Linked DNA regions of Homo sapiens: all the other regions are linked to region 1. The links are contacts of gene promoters, found by promoter capture Hi-C in blood cells and fetal thymus (Javierre and others, 2016). All regions are on one chromosome and are shown on one strand. The core of a region is centred on a gene start or on the middle of the fragment in contact, and the rest is flanking DNA. Distances in the headings are between cores, read along the strand shown.

Region 1 (2,952 bases), core at 183-2,682:
CAGACTGGTCTCAGACTCCTGAGCTCAGGCAATCCGCCCACCTTGGTCTTTCAAAGTGCTAGGATTACAGGTGTGAGCCACTGCACCCGGTCCTTATGTGACACTTCTAAAGTGGGGTGACCCTTCAATGTTCCACATATTGAGCCCTCTCATCCCATGAATAAATGGCAATTTATTTATTGCCTCTTGCATTCCATCAGTTGCAATTATTCAGCCATCGAGTTCTCCTTCAGAGCCCTCAGTCTGGATCAGCCCATTATCTCCCTTTAAGCCAGGCCCTCCCCAACGCAGGTCACCTTCTAGCTGATTTCCCTCACTTCAGTCTCCCCAGTTTTTCTCCACCTTGCCACTGGTGATGGGTAAATTATCTTAAAACATGACTTGGTCGTGCCACTGCTCAAAAACCTTCTGAGGTGCTCCATGTCTGAGTGCTTCGCTCCTGAAACTGGGCATGAAACTCTGAGCCAGAGTAGTCAATGCCCAGGGCACTGAGAAGCACAGTTTTCTGGAATGCTGATTGAGCTTGATATGAACTAATATAGAATAATAGTTGTATATTTAAGCAAACATGGTTTATAAAATAGTCAAATGCAACTCTTTATATTATTAAAATAAAATATAAAGGGAAGAAATGTAGAGTCTGCAGGTGGCTGCTTCAGGCTGTGCCCACCTATTACGTAGGGGTAATGTGTCAATTCTCCCATCAGTTGAGGCTACTTAGGGGGAGAAGTTAAAAAGCTCTGAAGATAGCAACTGTTCTCAATCTCCCTCGGTTCTACCCAGGGGTGCTCCACTTGTGCCCAAGACAATTTTCAGCTTCTCTGCAGTGTGTGCCACTGTTCTGGGCAGGTGGCCTCCTGAGGTCCCACAGCTACCTCCAATTCAGTTCCACATGCACGAATATTGATCTCCTTTACTCACACACATCCTGCTCACACACCCACCCCTAACATGGCCATGGTGCCTTCCTGGCCTCTTAGGAGCATGGTGACCTCTGCTCTGGCTTGTGTGGTGGACTATTTCACAATGTAGTAGTCTCTCTCTCTCCCTCTCTCTCTCTCTCTCTCTCTCACACACACACACACACACATACACCCCTACACATACACACATGCACACATACTTATATACACAAGCTGCCCCGAGGTGGCTCTAGGTAGTTAATTTTAGTGTTATTAGACAGTGGTGGCACAGTGGAGACAGAATACCTGGATTCAAATCCTGGCTCCCCCACTGCAATAGTCCATTCTCATACTGCTATAAAGAACTACCTGAGAGTGGGTGATTTATTAGAAAAAAAAAAAAAAGAAATTTAATTGACTCACACTTCCACATTGCTGGGGAGGCCTCAGGAAACTTACAGTCATGGTGGAAGGCGAAGGGGAAGCAAACTTGGACCTTCTCAAATGGCGGCAGAAGAGAGAGATGGTGTGGAGCAGGAACTTGCCAAACACTTATAAAACCATCAGATCTTGTGAGAATTCACTCACTATCACGAGAACAGCATGGGGGAAACCGCTCCCATGATCCAGTCACCTTGCCCTGGGTCCTGCCCTCAACATATGGGGATTACTGGGATTACAATTTGAGATGATATTCAGGTGTGGACACAGAGCCAAACCATATCATTCTGCCCCTGGCCCCTCCCAGATATTATGTTCTTTATACATTTCAAAACAAAATTGTGCCTTAGCAACAGTCCCCCAAAGTCTTAACTTATTCCAGTATTAACTTGAAAGTCAAAGTCCAAAGTTTCATCTGAGGCAAGGCAAGTCCCTTCCACCTATGAGCCAGTAAAATCAAAAGCAAATGGCCGGGTGCGGCGGCCCACGCCTGTAATCCCAGCACTTTGAGAGGCCGAGTCGGGTGGATCACTTGACGTCAGAAGTTCGAGACCAGCCTGGCCAATGTGGTGAAACCCTGTCTCTACTAAAAATACAAAAATTAGCAGGGTGTGGTGGCACACACTTGTAGTCCTAGCTACTGGGAGGCTGAGACAGAAGAATCTCTTGAACCTGGGAGGTGGAGGTTGCAGTGAGCCAAGATAGTGCCAATGTACTCCAGCCTGGGTGACAGAGCAAACTGTGTCTCAAAAAAAAAAAAAAAAAAAAAAGCAAGTTAGTTACTTCCAAGATACAGTGGGGGTGCAGGAGGCATTGGATAAATGCTCCCATTTCAAATGGGAGAAATTGGCCAAAACAAAGGGCTACAGGCCCCACGCAAGTCCAAAATCCAGTGGTGCAGTCATTAAATCTTAAATCTCAAAAATAATCTCCTTTGACTCCATGTCTCATATCCAGGTCATGCTGATGCAAGAGGTGGGCTCCCACAGACTCAGGCAGCTCTGCTTCTGTGGCTTTGCAGGGTATAGCTCTCCTCCTGCTGCTTTCGCAGGCTGGTGTTGAGTGTCTGTGGCTCTTCCAGGTGCAGAGTGCAAGCTGACAGTGGATTTACCATTCTGGGGTCTGGAGTACGGTGGTCCTCTTCTCACAGCTCCACTAGGCAGTCCTCCAGTGGGGACTCTGTGTGGGGGCTCCAACTTCACATTTCCCTTCTGCACTGCCCTAGCAGAGGTTCTCTATGAGGTCTCTACCCCTGCAGCAAACTTTTGCCTGGACATCCTGGCGTTTCATACATCCTCTGAAATCTAAGTGGAGGTTCCCAAACCTCAATTCTTGACTTCTGTGCACCTGCAGGCTCAACACCACATGGAAGCCGCCATGGGTTGAGGCTTGCACCCTCTGAAGCAATGGCCTGAACTGTACACTGGCCCCTTTTAGCCATGGCTGGGATGCAGGGTACCAAGTCCCGAGGCTGCATAGGGCAGTAGTGGGGCCCTGGACCAGCCCATTGTTTTTCCTCCTAGGCCTCTGGGCCCAGGATGGTAGGGTTGCTGCAAAGTTCTCTGACATGCCCTGGAGTAATCTTCCCCATTGTCTTGGCGATTAACAT
Region 2 (2,952 bases), core at 149-2,648, 370 kb before region 1:
AAGATAATTTTAGAGTTATAAAACCAGTCCTCAATTTTGGGTCTTCACAGAGAATCTTTCCCTTGCTAGACCCCAGAATTTTAAATGCATCCGTCTTACACTTTCACAAATATTTGGGTTTTCCTTTTTCACTCACAAACAGCAGGGAGGTCATGTACTTTTTGTACAACACCTGTGCACTATGAGAAAATGGTACCTTTTAGTTATTGACAAGTTAAAATAGCACTCTCAGTTTTTCAGTATTACAGAGAGCAAATAGTTTCCTCTCCTGCTCTGTGCAGTAGCTTTTCCAGAACTATGGACAAATTGATCAGAAGAAGATTGATTATTTCCTCATCTTTTTTTCTTTTTTTTGAGACAGAGTCTCTCTCTGTCCCCCAGGCTGAAGTGCAGCGGCATGATCTCAGCTCACTGCAACCTCTGCCTCCCGGGTTCAAGTGATTCTCCTGCCTCAGCCTCCTGAGTAGCTGGGATTACAGGCACCCACCACCACACCTGGCTAATTTTTTGTATTTTTAGTAAAGACAGGGTTTTACCATGTTGGTCAGGCTGGTCTCAAACTCCTGACCTCAGGTGATCCACCTGCCTCGGCCTCCCAAAGTGCTGGGATTACAGGCGTGAGCCACTGCGCCCGGCCTATTTCCCCACCTTTCGTGTAAGGTGCTACTGAACATGACAGCTTCTTGTCATGACAGGAAACTTGCATCAGTTGGATATCCTTTTGAGAAACTGAATTTTGCAAAGGGCCAAATTTCCCCAAACTGAACGGGCTCAGGAAATGTTCCTTTACACTCAGAACATTCTATTTTAAGTATATTATTTATTGTTGGCAGTTCCTCAGGGATTTCCCTTTTCTCTGTATTGGTCAGTGTAGTTGATGTAAAACCGTTTTGTGGATGGAAAATATTTTTATTTTATTGCTCTTTTAGTTTGGTAGGTTAAATAAAGGTTCTTGGTAATTTGGGATTTGTTTCGTATTTTTGTGTTGACCATATCGCTCTTCCAAGCTTTATTTGATCCCTTGCCACATTTGTGATTGTTAGGCTTCAAAAAGACAAACCGCTGGTCAGGGAAGCCAAATGGAGATGGTGCCGAACTACTTTGTACTAATCCTTCAGAGGTCAATTGCAGTGTTACTTCCTCTGCGAGACACCATCTCTGCCTTCAGACTAGGTTGGATCCAACTACTGTATCTCTCCTCCCCCTCCATTTTCCTTGTTATGATATGATTCACCCTTGAAATTAATTGTTCAAAGCCTGTCTTCCTTTTTAGACTGGAACCCCAATGGTAGCAGGGCCATTGTCTATTCTTTTTCCTGCTGTATCTCCAGCACCTGGCACATAGTAGAGACTATGAAAGAATTAGTGGCCCATAAGAAAACATAGCTAGAGAAACAACCACTTGAAAGAGAAATAAGGAGTGCAAAGTGAGTGAAGCCAAACGAGTACATGTGTTAAATTTAGTAAATGTGAGCTATTCTACAGACTGTTGGTATATTAATTTGGGTTCCATCAGAAGCAGACCCCGAGATAAGGATTTGTGTACAAGTACTTTTTCCAGAAAGTGCCAGTATGGAAGTGGGGAAGCCAGATAGGGAAAGGAAGAAAGGCAAAAACAGTGTGCATTATCAAGTAAGCTACATGGCAGGCAGCTGGAGCTTACTCTTGTTGAAGACTCCCAGGAAACAGTGCAGAACACACAACTGGGGCTGGGTGCGGTGTAATCCCAGCACTTTGGGAGGCCGAGGCAGGTGGATCACCTGAGGTCAGGAGTTCGAGACAAGCTTGGCCAACATGGTGAAATCCTGTCTCTATTAAAAATTAAAAAATTAGCTGGGCATGGTGCGCGTGCCTGTAATCCCAGCTACTCAGGAGGCTGAGGCAGAAGAATTGCTTGAACCCGGGAGGTGGAGGTTGCAGTAAGCCAAGATCGCGCGCCACTGCACTCCAGCATGGGCAACAGAGTGAGACTCTGTCTCAAGAAAAAAAAAAAAAAAAAAAGAACACACACACACTTAGGAGATATTGCACCTAAGCCACAAGGGAGCTGGAGTATTTATTCACCAACTCCTGTCAGTCACTGGTTGCAGAATGCTCCTAGGAGGCATTAATTTCCCAGCACTTCTGGGCTGCCTCCAACGCTGGAGAGTGGGAACAGTCTGAGAGGGTCCTTAGGCAGGAACACAGTTCCTGACAGTTGGAACTGTGTGTTTAAGGAATTGAGAGGTACTGAAGGGATGTGGATGGGGCATTGACAGCATCTGACCCCACATGGTTCAGATGCATCCATACCCCACTTTTTACTCCATCCTATCACTACTTCTTCAAGTCCCAACTTCCAAAAACAGACACACACACATACAAAGGAAACAGTTAGCAGGACCAGCTATATTTCCTGTTCTTACAGATAATCTTAAATCCATAATTGATATTCATCATCTCCTTCCTCCCCCTACTATTATGGATGAATCATGCACCCCACCCTCACACACAATTCATATGTTGAAGTCCCAGCTGCCAGCCAGTACTTCAGAATGTGGCCATGTTTGGAGACAGAGCCTTTAAAGAGGTGATTAAATTGAAGGGAGGCCGTTGAGGTGGGGCCCTAATCCTAGTGACTGGTGTTCTCCTAAGAAGAGGAAGAGGCCAGATGCGGTGGCTCATGCCTGTAATCTCAGCACTTTGGGACGCCAAGGCTGGCAGAGCACTTGAGGTCAGGAGTTTGAGACCAGCCTGGCCAACATGGTGAAACCCCAACTCTACTAAAATACAAAAATTAGCCGGGCGTGGTGGCAGGGACCTGTAATCCCAGCTACTCAGGAGGCCGAGGCAGGTGAATCACTTGAACCCCGGAAGCAGAGGTTGCAGTGAGCCAAGTTCGCGCCACTGTACTCCAGCCTAGGTGACAGAGGGAGACTCTGTCTCAAACAAACAAACAAACAAACAAAAAAA
Region 3 (2,952 bases), core at 453-2,952, 300 kb before region 1:
CATTTTCAACCTCTCAGTTTTAGAGTTAAAAATAAACCTGAAAAGCGCCTCTTTATATGGATCATATTTTATATTTTTTTCCGTATTTGAGATTATTTTTTAAGGATAGATTCTTTGAAGTGAGGCAGAGAATAAAACTTTTATGCCAAATTGGTTTTAGCAGAATTTTGCAGTTTATGCAGGTTGAGTATCCCTAATCTGAAAATCTAAACTTTGAAATGCTCCAAAATCTGAAACTTTGAGTTCTGACATTGCACTCAAAGGAAATGTTCATTGGGGCATTTTGGATTTGGGACTTTTGGATTAGGGATGCTCAGCTTTTAAGTATGATACGAGTGTTCCAAAATCTAAAATACTTGGTCTCAAGCATTTCAGTTAAGGGATAGTCAACCTGTACTGACAGATTGAGGTCACTTTTGAGTCTCCTCTTTGCTGTGATACCTTGTGGGAATATCCAGACAAGGAGAGTCCCTACGGCTCTTAGGAGAAGCTCTTTTTGAGAAATAAAATATGGTAGTAGAGAGCACTCTGGATTAGAAATTTGCAAACTGGCGTTCTCATTTTGACCTTACTCTAGGAAATTATGTGAATTTGGGCATGATACTTCACCTTCCTCATCCATACAATGAAAATAAAGATTAACTTTTAAGTTTCTTTGCAATTCTAGAATTCTGGGTTTAGTATTTCTGTGTGAAGATTGGGTATAAAACATGTGTTGGAGACCTGAGATAACCCAAGGTATTGAAGGCTCATAACTCATTGGAAGAACAGAATTTTATGAACCAGCTCCCTTGTGTATTCAGTGCCTTTCTCTTTTTCCATAGCATTGAGAAGTTCTGTGCAGAAGGCATCCCACTATTGGGAATTCTGGTCCAGTCAAGACATTTGAGAACAGTGGTTCATGTCCTGGATAAGATTCTGCCTTTATTTTACCCTTGCCAGTATTACCTTCTGAAGAATGAGCAGTAAGTGTGTTCCATCTATGGCAGGAGACACTCTTAAACAGTCCAGCAAGTACAAATGATTGTGTCTTCTGGTTTCTTAAGTAAAATAAAGGGAATGCTATTTCAACAGCGTATTATGGGGCAAAAATATTCTGCACCCCAGTTTAGAATGCAGGTTGATGAACAGTGATTCTAATAATGACTCCAGTTTTATTACCATGAAAGATATTTTTCCTTTTCATTTATTATAACTTTGAATTGCTTATTAAAGCTTAATAGTATATGAAGGAGCAGTTGTTTCCCTGAGATTCTGGGAATCGTGCTTCTGATATTAAGCAGCAAATGGTTTGCCATTGTAACAATAGAAAAGATTGTTTTAAATTGTTTACAGTGCACATAGTGCAGTGTTGCAAACAGATAAGATGCTAGGAAGGTGGGAAGAGAACAACCTGTCTAGGGAGGCAAGAGTAAAGCATCTGGCTGGGGCCTCATGAACAGTGATGAAAGGGGAGGTGAGGCCTCACCCCATATGGAGGAACCCTGTACAGTGGGGACATGAAGTACATCCAAAGGCACAAGGGGAGCATTACAGTTTTCCTGTTATGTGTCTTTTCAAGCAGTATGTCTCCAATTTGCCCAAAAGAGCTTATTAAATATGGATTCCCAGGTTTCTCCCCCGGAGATGTTACTTTAGTAGAAATGGGTTAGGTCCTGGGAACTACTCACCTAACCCTTCAACCCCTTTTTAAGAATCAGCACCCTGGGTATGAGGCAAGTTTGGAAACTGAATGGTTTGGAAACATCTCTGCCTTTATTCATGGAGTTGGGGAGTGAGGAGGGGAGAGTGGTGCCTTTGGGTGTTTTTCCTCTAATGCTGTTTAACTTGCATGTGTTTGTGTGTCGTGGATCTGTTCTTAATACCTCTGTGGGTAGATAGAATTCCTTTTAACCCATGTTAAATGTGAAAACTTTATTCTTCTAGAATCCCTTCTTAAATAGTGCTTTGGTCGAAAAATGGGACCAATTTAGGAATTTTCTGTTTCCTCATAAGTAATTAGGGAAAATTCTGTTGAGTTCTGATCGGAAGGTAAAGTGCGTCCTCCTGTGTGCTTGGCAGGTTTTTATCGCATCTCCTCTTGTTCCTACACTTGGACAGCGGTGTCCCTCAGGGTGTCACACAACAGGTCACCCACAAGGTGGCACAGCACCTGACAGGAGCCAGCCATGGGGACAACGTGAAGCTTCTCAACAGCATGATCCAGGTGAGGGCCTTGCAAGCCCCTAAGCACACTCCCGCCTGTCTTCCCAACCAAGACCTCTAGCGTTAGCACACTTAGGTTTTAGTCATTTCAGATCACTTGGCTTAGTGTGCTTTTGGCCAAGAAAGGCAATAGATTTGGGATTTGTAGTGGAGGTAGATAGCATTTTGTTGCTATTTAAAAAATGAGAGGCTGGTTGTTATCTTTCCCATCACATGAGCCTTTTCTCCACAGGCACACATATCTGTAAGCACTCAGCCCAATGAAGTGGGCCCCGTTGCTGTGTTGGAGTTCTGGGTTCAGGCTCTCATAAGCCAGCATCTCTGGTACCGAGAACAACCTATCCTCTTCCTCATGGACCACTTGTGTAAAGCAGCTTTTCAGCTGATGCAGGAAGACTGCATACAGAAATTACTCTACCAACAACATAAGGTAATTAACCTGTTAGAGAATTTATCTTTCAGTGATTGGCTAGATAAAGTAGCTTTCTAAAAAGATTCCCCCAAGTACAGTTTTCAGTTCTACTCTGTGGCCATTACCTTCTTTAAGCTTTGCCTTAATGGTACCTTATCCCGATAATCGTAGTCCACTAGCGTAGACCCTAGGGAAGTTGGAAAGGACAGCCCAGGAAGAGTCCCGCTTGTTACATTTGGCTGTAATGCTCTGCCTTGGACTATTGCTGCTGGTGGACTCATCCTTGAAATCTCTGTCTTATCAGAATCTTGTATTGTAGTAAGACAGTTGCTGAT

What was found. The method cuts DNA at HindIII sites, captures the fragments that hold promoters and counts their contacts. A CHiCAGO score of 5 or more calls a contact.
Region 2: a contact is called between a fragment that was not itself captured here and the fragment with the promoter of SLC14A2 in region 1, in 1 of 17 cell types (naive CD4 T cells). The highest score is 5.9, in naive CD4 T cells.
Region 3: a contact is called between a fragment that was not itself captured here and the fragment with the promoter of SLC14A2 in region 1, in 1 of 17 cell types (naive CD8 T cells). The highest score is 6.0, in naive CD8 T cells.

The regions. Positions count from the first base shown.
Region 1 is chr18:45,613,956-45,616,907 of GRCh38, reverse strand. It overlaps SLC14A2 (solute carrier family 14 member 2), which reads right to left and starts at 1,432. Exons shown (of 20, transcript NM_007163.4): 1 at 1,326-1,432. The region is part of intron 8 of LOC105372093 (a long non-coding RNA gene); the gene reads left to right. The HindIII fragment of the contact is 14,354 bases long and covers 1-2,952 here.
Region 2 is chr18:45,981,550-45,984,501 of GRCh38, reverse strand. It overlaps PSTPIP2 (proline-serine-threonine phosphatase interacting protein 2), which reads left to right. Exons shown (of 15, transcript NM_024430.4): 15 at 1-966. Among named protein-coding and RNA genes, the nearest start is that of EPG5, 16 kb to the right of the region's middle. The HindIII fragment of the contact is 777 bases long and covers 1,010-1,786 here.
Region 3 is chr18:45,915,692-45,918,643 of GRCh38, reverse strand. It overlaps EPG5 (ectopic P-granules 5 autophagy tethering factor), which reads left to right. Exons shown (of 44, transcript NM_020964.3): 17 at 825-965; 18 at 2,062-2,206; 19 at 2,438-2,635. Among named protein-coding and RNA genes, the nearest start is that of EPG5, 50 kb to the left of the region's middle. The HindIII fragment of the contact is 970 bases long and covers 1,218-2,187 here.